2 separate regions of the Homo sapiens genome follow, and region 1 is linked to region 2. The links are contacts of gene promoters, found by promoter capture Hi-C in blood cells and fetal thymus (Javierre and others, 2016). All regions are on one chromosome and are shown on one strand. The core of a region is centred on a gene start or on the middle of the fragment in contact, and the rest is flanking DNA. Distances in the headings are between cores, read along the strand shown. Region 1 overlaps SYNE1 (spectrin repeat containing nuclear envelope protein 1). Region 2 holds the start of MTRF1L (mitochondrial translation release factor 1 like).

The links. The method cuts DNA at HindIII sites, captures the fragments that hold promoters and counts their contacts. A CHiCAGO score of 5 or more calls a contact.
Region 1: a fragment that was not itself captured here is called in contact with the fragment with the promoter of MTRF1L in region 2 in 1 of 17 cell types (neutrophils); the score reaches 7.7 in neutrophils.

Annotation. Positions count from the first base shown.
Region 1 is chr6:152,573,405-152,578,188 of GRCh38, reverse strand. The region is part of intron 3 of SYNE1 (spectrin repeat containing nuclear envelope protein 1); the gene reads left to right. Among named protein-coding and RNA genes, the nearest start is that of SYNE1, 62 kb to the left of the region's middle. The HindIII fragment of the contact is 671 bases long and covers 2,925-3,595 here.
Region 2 is chr6:152,999,090-153,004,119 of GRCh38, reverse strand. It overlaps MTRF1L (mitochondrial translation release factor 1 like), which reads left to right and starts at 1,411. Exons shown (of 7, transcript NM_019041.7): 1 at 1,411-1,693. The coding sequence starts at 1,435. RefSeq lists enhancers at 1,054-1,163, 254-1,254 and silencers at 1,484-1,593, 1,604-1,663. The HindIII fragment of the contact is 13,608 bases long and covers 1-5,030 here.

The DNA.
Region 1 (4,784 bases), core at 2,011-4,510, 430 kb after region 2:
ATTTCATAATTTAAAAACTTTTTGAAAAGTGAAAAAAATATAAAGTTTCAGATTTCATGAATTTAACAAAAGAAAAATAGTTTGCAATTGTTTCACTGCCTATTGTAGCAAAAAAAACCATTTTTGCTATCTAGATTTATATATTTAGTAGAAATAATGACACTTTACACATATACTCCCACACTCACAAAAACACCGCATCAAATCACAGAATATACAGGGAAAAATGCAGGATGTAGAGAAGATGTGGAGTTTGTTATTCCAAGAAACATTTGCTTCTGGTTGTTACTTTCTAAGTAAGGCCTGTTGGATACTATAAGCATTTTGCAAGTAGGCAAGGTATAGTATAGTAAATAAGTAAATTATTTTATTGGCATATTGCTTACAAATCTAAATTAAAAAAAAAAACAAAACAGAAAACTCAAGCTTGTAATAATGGGGAGTTGTGATACAGTCTAAGTGAATGTAGACCTTCACTCCAACTCCCGTCTGGAAAATCACCAGAGTTTAGAAGCATTTTCATAGTTAGAGAATTTTTTTTTCTTTTGTTGTCGTTGAGATGGAGTCTCGCTCTGTCCCCCAGGCTGGAGTGCAGTGGCACCATCTCGGCTCACTGCAAGCTCCGCCTCCCGGGGTCACGCCATTCTCCTGCCTCAGCCTCCCGAGTAGCTGCGACTACAGGCGCCCGCCACCATGCCCGGCTAATTATTTTGTGTTTTTAGTAGAGACGGGGTTTCACTGTGTTAGCCAGAATGGTCTCAATCTCCTGACCTTGTGATCCACCCGCCTCGGCCTCCCCAAGTGCTGGGATTACAGGTGCGAGCCACCGCGCCCAGGCAAGAATATTTTTATGATTTAAAATGCAGTAACGATGTCATTTCTTAGACTCAATTGTTTTCATGGATCTTGGTGAGTTCTTGCAAAGTGGCAATTGTGTTCACATTTCTGCCTAAAACCATGCACCCTAGGTTAGCAATGTGACTTCTTTAAAGCCCTGCATTAATTATACTTCTAATAAGATTCTTTCTATCGTTGAGCCACTTGCAACAGCAAGTTTTATTCTTTGTCAAGAACAAAAACACTTTATTAGCTGCAGTGATTGTAGCCTTCCTATCTGAAGCTCAAATTAATTTAAAGAAATGACAAAAAAATGCCTTCTTAACATATGAACAATTTTGATTGTCTGACAATAAAAGCTGGCATTTTATATGTGTATGTGTCTCTCAAGTTATTTTTAAATTACTAAAAATGCTATTTGCTTTAGACCCCAATCTATTTTCCATATATCTTTTGTTAGTGCTCAATCATGAAGTCAAATTGTGTCTCCATTTCCTGTTTGCTTTGAGGGTGATCTACTCTTCTTTAATCTAATCGGACTAAATGTGATTACACTCAGGGAAGCACAAATTCAAAGTTGGATTTTTCCACTAATTCTTGACAGCCAGATTTAGAGGAGTGTAAAATAATTTCCCCACTTCCTGTAGCTAATTTGAATAGGAAGGTCAAGAATCTGGCTATCTGTCCTTATACCTGCTGTGACTGAAAATATGACAAGGTTTTGAAAGCCTTTGTTCTGTGTGCCCCTGTGTCACTTGGAAAATACCTGTGTCTTTTTGGGGTAGCCTGCATCCCCTAGTAGTTAATTATTTAGTTACTTACCTCTGACAGATCTAACAAGGTAGGCCTTAGAAGTTAATCTGGTGGCAAAAGGAGTAGGTTTAGAAAGGAAAACACACCAAATTGCATAGGATTTGTCATCAAGAAATTTGAGTATAATGTACTCTTGGAAACTGAGTGATTGGAAGAAAAACCTAACACTGTCTAAATACATGGGAGTGTTGTAAACTGCATAGTAGGACTCAAAAACCAAGACTGTGCTATGTGCTAGTATTTCTGCTGTAAATGCCTAGTAATTCCTTATTCCCAATCTGTAGTTGGACCTTGAACACTGGCTCACGCAAAGCAAGTTCTATTGATTTTATTTATATCCTATAGATACAGAATGTGAATGCATACCAATAACTGCAAAAGCAAGCAGCTAACGCAGATTAGAGTTAACATTAGCAAAGAAAGATGGGTTGGTACTTATTTTTTTGAAAAAACACAGCAGGAACAATTTAATAGCTGACTGAATTGCTACCAGAAAGACATGCACAGGCACGTTTGCTGATTAGCCGAGGTCCACTTTGTTCTTATTTGGCAGATTATGCAATAGCCGTTTCCCAGAACATTACTAATAATGCTGCAAGAATTATAAGAGAAAGTTTGTTTACACTGAATATTTTAAAAGAGATTACAGTCACCTCAAGTTGCTAAGATAGAAAGTAATAATGTAGCATGCATTAAATGCCTATTACATTCCAGGCACTGTGCTATGTGTTTTGCATATACATTGTTCATTTAGCTTTCAAGCAACCCTGTGAGGTAGCTGTTAATAGTTTCCTCATTACAGTGATGATGAAACTGATGTTCTGATAGGCTGAGAAACTTGTTCAAGGTTGCATAGCTAGTAAGTTGTGGCAAATCTAGGCTGTTCTGACTGCAAAGATCATGTTTATTTATGTTGACTCCACAATCTTAAAATGGAACAACAGCCTATTGGATTACTGAACTGTAGTGAAATGCAATATAACTTCTCTTTTTCATGTTTTCAGCAGTTTGCATAAATAAATTGTTGAACAACTATTTTAAGATTCTAAAGCTGTGGTTTTTGAATTCTAGTTCGGATAAGAATGACATGAGGAGTGTGTTCCAATGCAGACCTCTAAGCCTTGTCTCAGAGAGTCTTGGGGCATCTAATGCAGAACCCAGGAAGCTCCATCTCTAGTGAGCATTGCATTCTGATGTCATTCGTCCATGAAACACATTTTGACAGATACAAATCTAGAGGCATGTAATTCAGCCCAGACCACTAAATAAAAGCTTCATTCAGAATTGTTCTGCTCAATGCAGTATGACATTAGGAAAAACTTTATCAGGTGTTGCTCCTTGAAATAGTCCTTTAGGGCATTTATTACATTCCCAGATTGAAGACCACCATCCTATACCACCGGAGTTAGAGAAAACCTCATCAACTGTACCCACCACCATCATGTGTCATTCAGGGATGGGATTATAGCTTAGATGGAAGAGTTCTTACATTTCATGTTTGGTACATTCATTCACATTTATTTTTCTTAAGAAAGCATAATTCCAATGGTTATTCTCTTAAAATAAGTACTTCCATGGTGGCTTAAAGAACCTAAAGCCACAGAAATGAAAAGCAAACAAAATTAAAAACAAACAAACAAAACAAAAAACAAACCAAAAACAGCTAAGAGTGAACTGACGTTTCAAGAGTCCTGCTCTATAAGGATTTGACTGAATGGTGCCTGTCCCAAGGATCTGAAAGTGTTAGTGTGCCTGAAAAAAACAGAAGTTAGATTATACATTGGGGAAAATTACTTTGATTACCTTAGTTACTTCAAATACCTTAATACTTTCATGCAAACATATAAAGTGTATATCCTTCAAGTGGGGTTTTCCATGGTTGAGAAACAACTACGGTATTTACTTAGCACCTATTATGCTCATCTCCTTTCCTTCCCTCAAAGCTTCATTTAGTCCAATTAATGAGATAAGATTTGGATTGATTACCAGACTGCTTAAGCTTAATCAACCAACAAAGACTGAAGAGAGTCATGAAAGAAGTGAGAGCAAGAGGAGGAAGGGCATCCCAGTCCTTGTTGTTCAATTACAGCAATTAACTGTCAGGTGCAGAAAGGAAAGGCAAGAACAAGAGCAAAGAGGAGGTAATTACACAGGGTTGAGCTTGGGGATGCCTTTGCAGAGGTGCAGACACGTTTCTGAGGCAACTCTCCAGATCTCATCTACGAAAACAACAAATATATATTATATATATTTCCTCTCTAAACCTACTCCTTTTGCCACCAAATTAACTTCTAAGGCCTATCTTGTTATATCTGCCATATATATATATATATATGTATATATTTATGTGTATATATATATGTGTGTATATATATACATATATATGTGTATATCCCATTATATATTCCATAACTGTAGATTTGGCCCATTTTCTCCATTCTCACCCCGTTATGAGGCTCAAATCATAGTTACAGCTGGGGACTTCATTTAATTTGTTTTTAAGAATCTGTAACTCATAAAGAGATGACTCAGAGCTTGGTTGAACATCTCTAATGTTTTTGCTTCCCCCAGCTCCCACAGCCCGTAAAGTTAAAATATGTTCTGTGCTTCCAACAGGTGAAGCAGAGCTTTGATGCTATTATGCTGTATCTAACAATGAACCTGTTTTGTTTCTTAGTCATAGAAGTTTGCTGTATATGATGCATACTCTTTTAGGATGGGTAGATGCTATTGTTACTGTTAGTTTGATCATTTTCTTCAAAGTTTTAAAAAATAATTAACCTAATTCTTGAGCATATGAATTAGAGTGTCAAGGTAACAGACTTTTATAGGGAAATCTTCAGAAAATGTAGGCAGAAAAGTTATGATTTATGAGAGTCCCAATATTACATTCTTGACATTTCTTGAAGATAGGTTCTAAATCTTCTTGAACATTTTTTCCTGTTTTCAAAATTAGAGAATGGTAAGTTGGGGTCATCTGAGGAAAGAAGAGTTGTGAGCAATGGAATCCAACCTGCTTTTTCATCACTTCTCTTCAGTTTCAGTTAAAAATGTCAGCCTTGGAAACCATCATTCTCAGCAAACTACCGCAAGGACAAAAAACCAAACACCGCATGTTCTCACTCATAGGTGGG
Region 2 (5,030 bases), core at 162-2,661:
CTGTTCTATCCTCAGATCAGGATTAAAATAAAATGGGTTTCAACAGCAGAACGATTGTATAAAGTTGTGTAGCTTGAATACACAAAGTGAAAAGAACTGAGATAATTAGGTGGAGCCTTTAAGTAGCAAAAAACTATTTTTGCTTCCTGATGTTTGAAGAGTCATTTCATTCTTCCACTCACTCTGCATTTGTTATCGTGCTAAGAGATGAAAAGAGAGAGGCAATGCAAACGTTATTTTCTAAGAATGTTTATACTTAACAGTTTCGATTAGATGACCTAAGGATATTTTAACCTTGATAAGGGTTCCCATTTTTTACCATTTTATTTTTTATGAATAAATTAGAAGTTTCGTACTTCTAATATATCACCTCTCTCAACAGTGAAATACCACTTAGTAGACGCTGCCCAAACCAGTTAGGTAGTGGCAGTTCTCAGATTGAGCGTTTAGCCCTTGCATTCCCAGGACTGTCTTGGTTGTGTTTATTCCCTCATATTTATTTCTCCGTTGAGCTGTGAACAGGTCTTTTGAAAAGTGCAAAGCATTGTGCCAATAAATGTCGGTATTGCTGGCACCTATCCGCTACCAGTTCTTTGGAAAGGGATGAGGGTTGGACTCCTGGAGGCAGATATCTGAAGGCTTTGTTGGGCTGTAGGTTGCTGTAACACGGAATCACTCCACCTCTTTAAAAAGCTGACGATAAGTGGGACTAAGTGAAAATGAATGGGCAGGTGAATAATAAAGTCCTTTGAAAGCAAGTAAATGACGCGGCAGATGAAGGGCACGCACGTCTATTGTGCAAATTCATTCAGTGGTTATCTCATAATACACTTATCAAGTCCTTATTACCACGAACCTCACCCACCGTGGACAAGAGAAACATAAGCAGGAAAAAAGGAGGAGGAATAAACACACGCCTGTCCATAATAAAACTCGCTCTTGAAGACTCAGCGGCAGCCCTGCACCGGAGACTGACGACTTGCGCGGCTGTGACCTCCGCCCTGCAGCGGACCCTCGACTGCCCTGCACTGCGGCTCTGGAGGCCCCGACTCAGTGCATGGGAAAGAAATCCTCACTATCAGAAAACAGAGGGGCAATCTGCTGCTCTCCCTTTCCGGCCAAACACGTCACCCATCAACCGGATACCTACCAAGAGGCTTTCAGAGGAGGCGCCCAAGGTCTCCCAGGCCCGCCCCTCCCCAATCACGCTCCGCTCAGCCCCCTCAACTTTTGGCCTCCGGGAAGTTCGCAGCGTTCTCACGCTTGGCAGGAAGTTCCCGCCAAGGCTTCCGGAAAATCCTTTAAAAAGCAACGCTTGCGCTGGGCGGGGCTTGGTGCGCTCTCACCCTTATCTCCAAATTCTGGGTGTTGTCGCGAGGGCTGCTGTGTCCGGAACTTCCGGTTCCGGTCAGGGTCCGCGATCTCGGACTAAGGATGCGGTCCCGGGTTCTGTGGGGCGCTGCCCGGTGGCTCTGGCCCCGCCGGGCCGTTGGCCCAGCCCGCCGGCCCCTGAGCTCCGGTAGCCCGCCGCTGGAGGAGCTGTTCACCCGGGGCGGGCCCTTGCGGACCTTCCTCGAGCGCCAGGCGGGGTCTGAAGCCCATTTGAAGGTCAGGAGGCCCGAGTTGCTGGCGGTGATCAAACTGCTGAACGAGAAGGAGCGGGAGCTGCGGGAGACTGAGCACTTGCTGCACGGTAAGGGTCGGGCCCGGGGGAGAGGCGTCAGAGCACATTCTTGACTCTTCGTTTGACTTTTCCACTGCCCACACTACCCGAGTTTGAAACTCTTTACTCACTTGCAGCCGTTTTTATTTTGGATCAGAGGTCAGGACATCATTACGTGCTGTGATCCCATCCTCTCCTGTGGGCTCTCTTGTGCTCCTTTGCCACGGCGCTCTGCCGCCTTTTACATGCTTATTAGTTGTGGACTCGGGCAAGAGCTCATTAGCTCAGCAAGGATAAATAAGGCACTGTCCCTGTGATGGGCTCCACAGCGGTGTTTCTCAAAGTGTGGTGTGGAGACCCATTTGCAGTAGTATCAGGGCAGTGCTTGTTAATAGCAGACTTAGGACTCAGAATCTCAGACCTATACGTGGGTAAAGGTACTAAATTGGGAAATTCAGTATGGCCTAAGTATAGAATAGGTGGGAGATGATGTCATAGAAACATGAAGCCAGAAAAATAGTTAAGAACCTTGCAAGACAAAGAATTTGGATTTATTTTTTATAGACCATGGAAAGTTAGCAAATGTTTTTAAGCAGAGAATTCACGTCTTTGTAAAGAAAAGTTAATGGTGGCATGCGCTGAGGATAAATTGGAGTATTCTCCAGAAACGCTGGTGGCTGACAGGCCAGGGAGGAGGCAGTTGAAACAATCCAAAGAAGAAATGGTGATAGGCATAGTTCTGACTCACAAAACATTTTGAGAAACAAGTTAGGATTTAGTGGCTTATGCCCTGAGAAGGATGAGGGAGAGAGTTAGTTCTAAGAAAAGTCTTAGGTTTCTGGCTTCAGCACGAGTGGTACTGTTAATTAAGATGAAAGTATAAAAGTTGGACCGAATTTTTTAAAAAGATGAGTTTTGCATTGAATGCCATATTAAGTTAAAAATACCTGTGAAAAGGAATTCCAATAAAGATATCTGTACTAGTCTAGGAGAAAAAATTACTGACATAGGAGAAAAATTGAGCCCAAATAATCATATGAGAGCTCTCGAGATATACAGTACGTGGTAAATTAAACCTTAGAAGTAGATGAGAACACTCAGGGAAAATGTGTTAAGATAGAAACAAGTCTAACAAGGCCAGAAATACACAGTATTTGAGGAGCAGGCAGAGAAGAAGGCTATAAAAGGTCAAGAAAAAAACAGCCAGAGCTTTGTGACCCTGAAGTAGATAAATAAATGAAGCTGTAGAAGCCAATAGAAAATTTCAAGAAGTAAGAGATCCTTGGCCAGGCGTGGTGGCTCACGCCTCTAATTCCAGCACTTTGAGAGGCTCAGGTGGGCCGATCACTTGAGCCCAGGAGTTCGAGACCAGCCTGGGTAACATGGCAAAACCCTGTCTCTACAAACAATGCAAAATTAGCTGGGCATGGTGGTGCGTGCCTGTGGTCCCAGCTACTTGAGAGGCTGAGGTGGGAGAATCGCTTGAACCCGGGAGGTGGAGGTTGCAGTGAGCCAAGATGGTGCCACTGCATTCCAGCCTGGGTGACAGCGCAAGACCCTGCCTCAAAAAAAAAAAAAAAAAAAAAAAATCCGTAGTACCTGACATAGAAAGGTAAAACAACCTTTTCAGCTCACACTGAAATAAGTCTTTAGATTTGGCAATTTTGTCATTGGTAACTTGAATAAAAATGGTCTTGATATGATTATAGAATCCAGTGTAACAGCTTGAGAGGTAAATTAGAGTTAACAGGAGAAAAGTTATAAAAATGGCATTTTATCTCCAGAAATCTGGGTGGGAAAAGAGGGGTGACAATAAGCAGCTACTTAAAGGGTTGAAAAGAAAAGGACCCATTTAGAATGGGAAACCATAAACATCTTTATAGGCAAAGGGGAAGGCAGGCACATGGTAGGTGTCCAGTAAACATATGTTGATTTATAATATTCAAGAGAAATTAAAGAAGTAGTATATTACCATTGCCTGTGAGTAACTCCTAATTCTAAACCCTTTAGAGCTGCACTGTCCAATATAGTAGCCAGTAGCCACACAGCTGTTGAGCAATTTGTGGCTAGTCTGAATTGAGGTGTGTAAGTGTAAAATACATATAGATTTCAAACACCTGGTATAAAAAGTAATATGTTTATGTTAATTACATGTTGAAATAATATTTGGAGCATATTGGGTTAAATAAAATATAGTATTAAAATTAAATTACTTCTAGACTCTAGTTCCAATCTCCTTAGCTTTGCAGAACTGAAAGGCACCTTAGAGATTATCCAGCTCAGAACTTTCATTTCATTCTTGTCATAACTGAAAGAAGTTGAGCCTATTGCCCTAACAGTACCTTAGCGATTAAGCTAGGGCTAGAATTCATTTTTGCTTTTCCTAACACATTTTCCATTCTACCAAATTTCTTCCATACCATATGCTTGCCAAAATAATTTTCAGCAGTGCTTCCTGTACTTGCTTATCTCAGTTTTGCTGTTGTTATTCTCTCTCCTTGAGTTAATCTTTTTTTCCTTTTTCTGCCCATTCCAAAACCAACAGATTCCTTCAAGGCACAACTGTTTTAATATTTAATCACATAGTGTATTAGTCTGTTTTCACACTGCTGATAAAGACATACCCAAGACAGGGTAATTTTTAAGAAAAAGAGGTTTAATAGACTAACAGTTCCACGTGGCTGGGGAGGCCTCCCAATCATGGTGGAAGGCAAAAGGCACGTCTTACATGGCAGCAGACAAGAGAGATAACTTGTGCAGGGGAACTCTTCTTTATAAAACCATCAGATCTTGTAAGACTTATTCACTATCATGAGAACAGCACAGGAAATATCTGCCCCCATGATTCAGTTACCTCTCACTGGGTCCCTCCCACAACAGGTGGGAATTGTGGGAGCTACAAATCAAAATGAGATTTGGGTGGGGACACAGCCAAACCATGTCACATAAGGGTTTAGGTTATTTTTTGTTTTTCTCTTCTAGAAAAATATAAGGAAACTAAAATTATCTATAATGCTCTCTTGAGGGCAGGTCTTATATATGTATTATCCCACTTCCCAGCATGGTTGTTTCTTAATAGATAAGCATACAAACTGATGCTTTGTAAGGGTTTGAACTTTCAATAGAGAGAACAATTTGTTAATAGCCAGAAATTTTCCCTTTCCTCCTCCTTTATATATGCTGCATATCATCTATAGGGTAGAGGAATGAGAAAGTATGTTTTATAAGGTAAAAATGAAAATTCAAAGATGAAACAACAATAAAGGTAAAGCCAGAGAGAGAGACAGAGGAGTACTTCGTATAAACATTCTGTATACATTAGGCAGAATCTAATAAATGTTTTTGGGTGGATACTAAAATACTAATG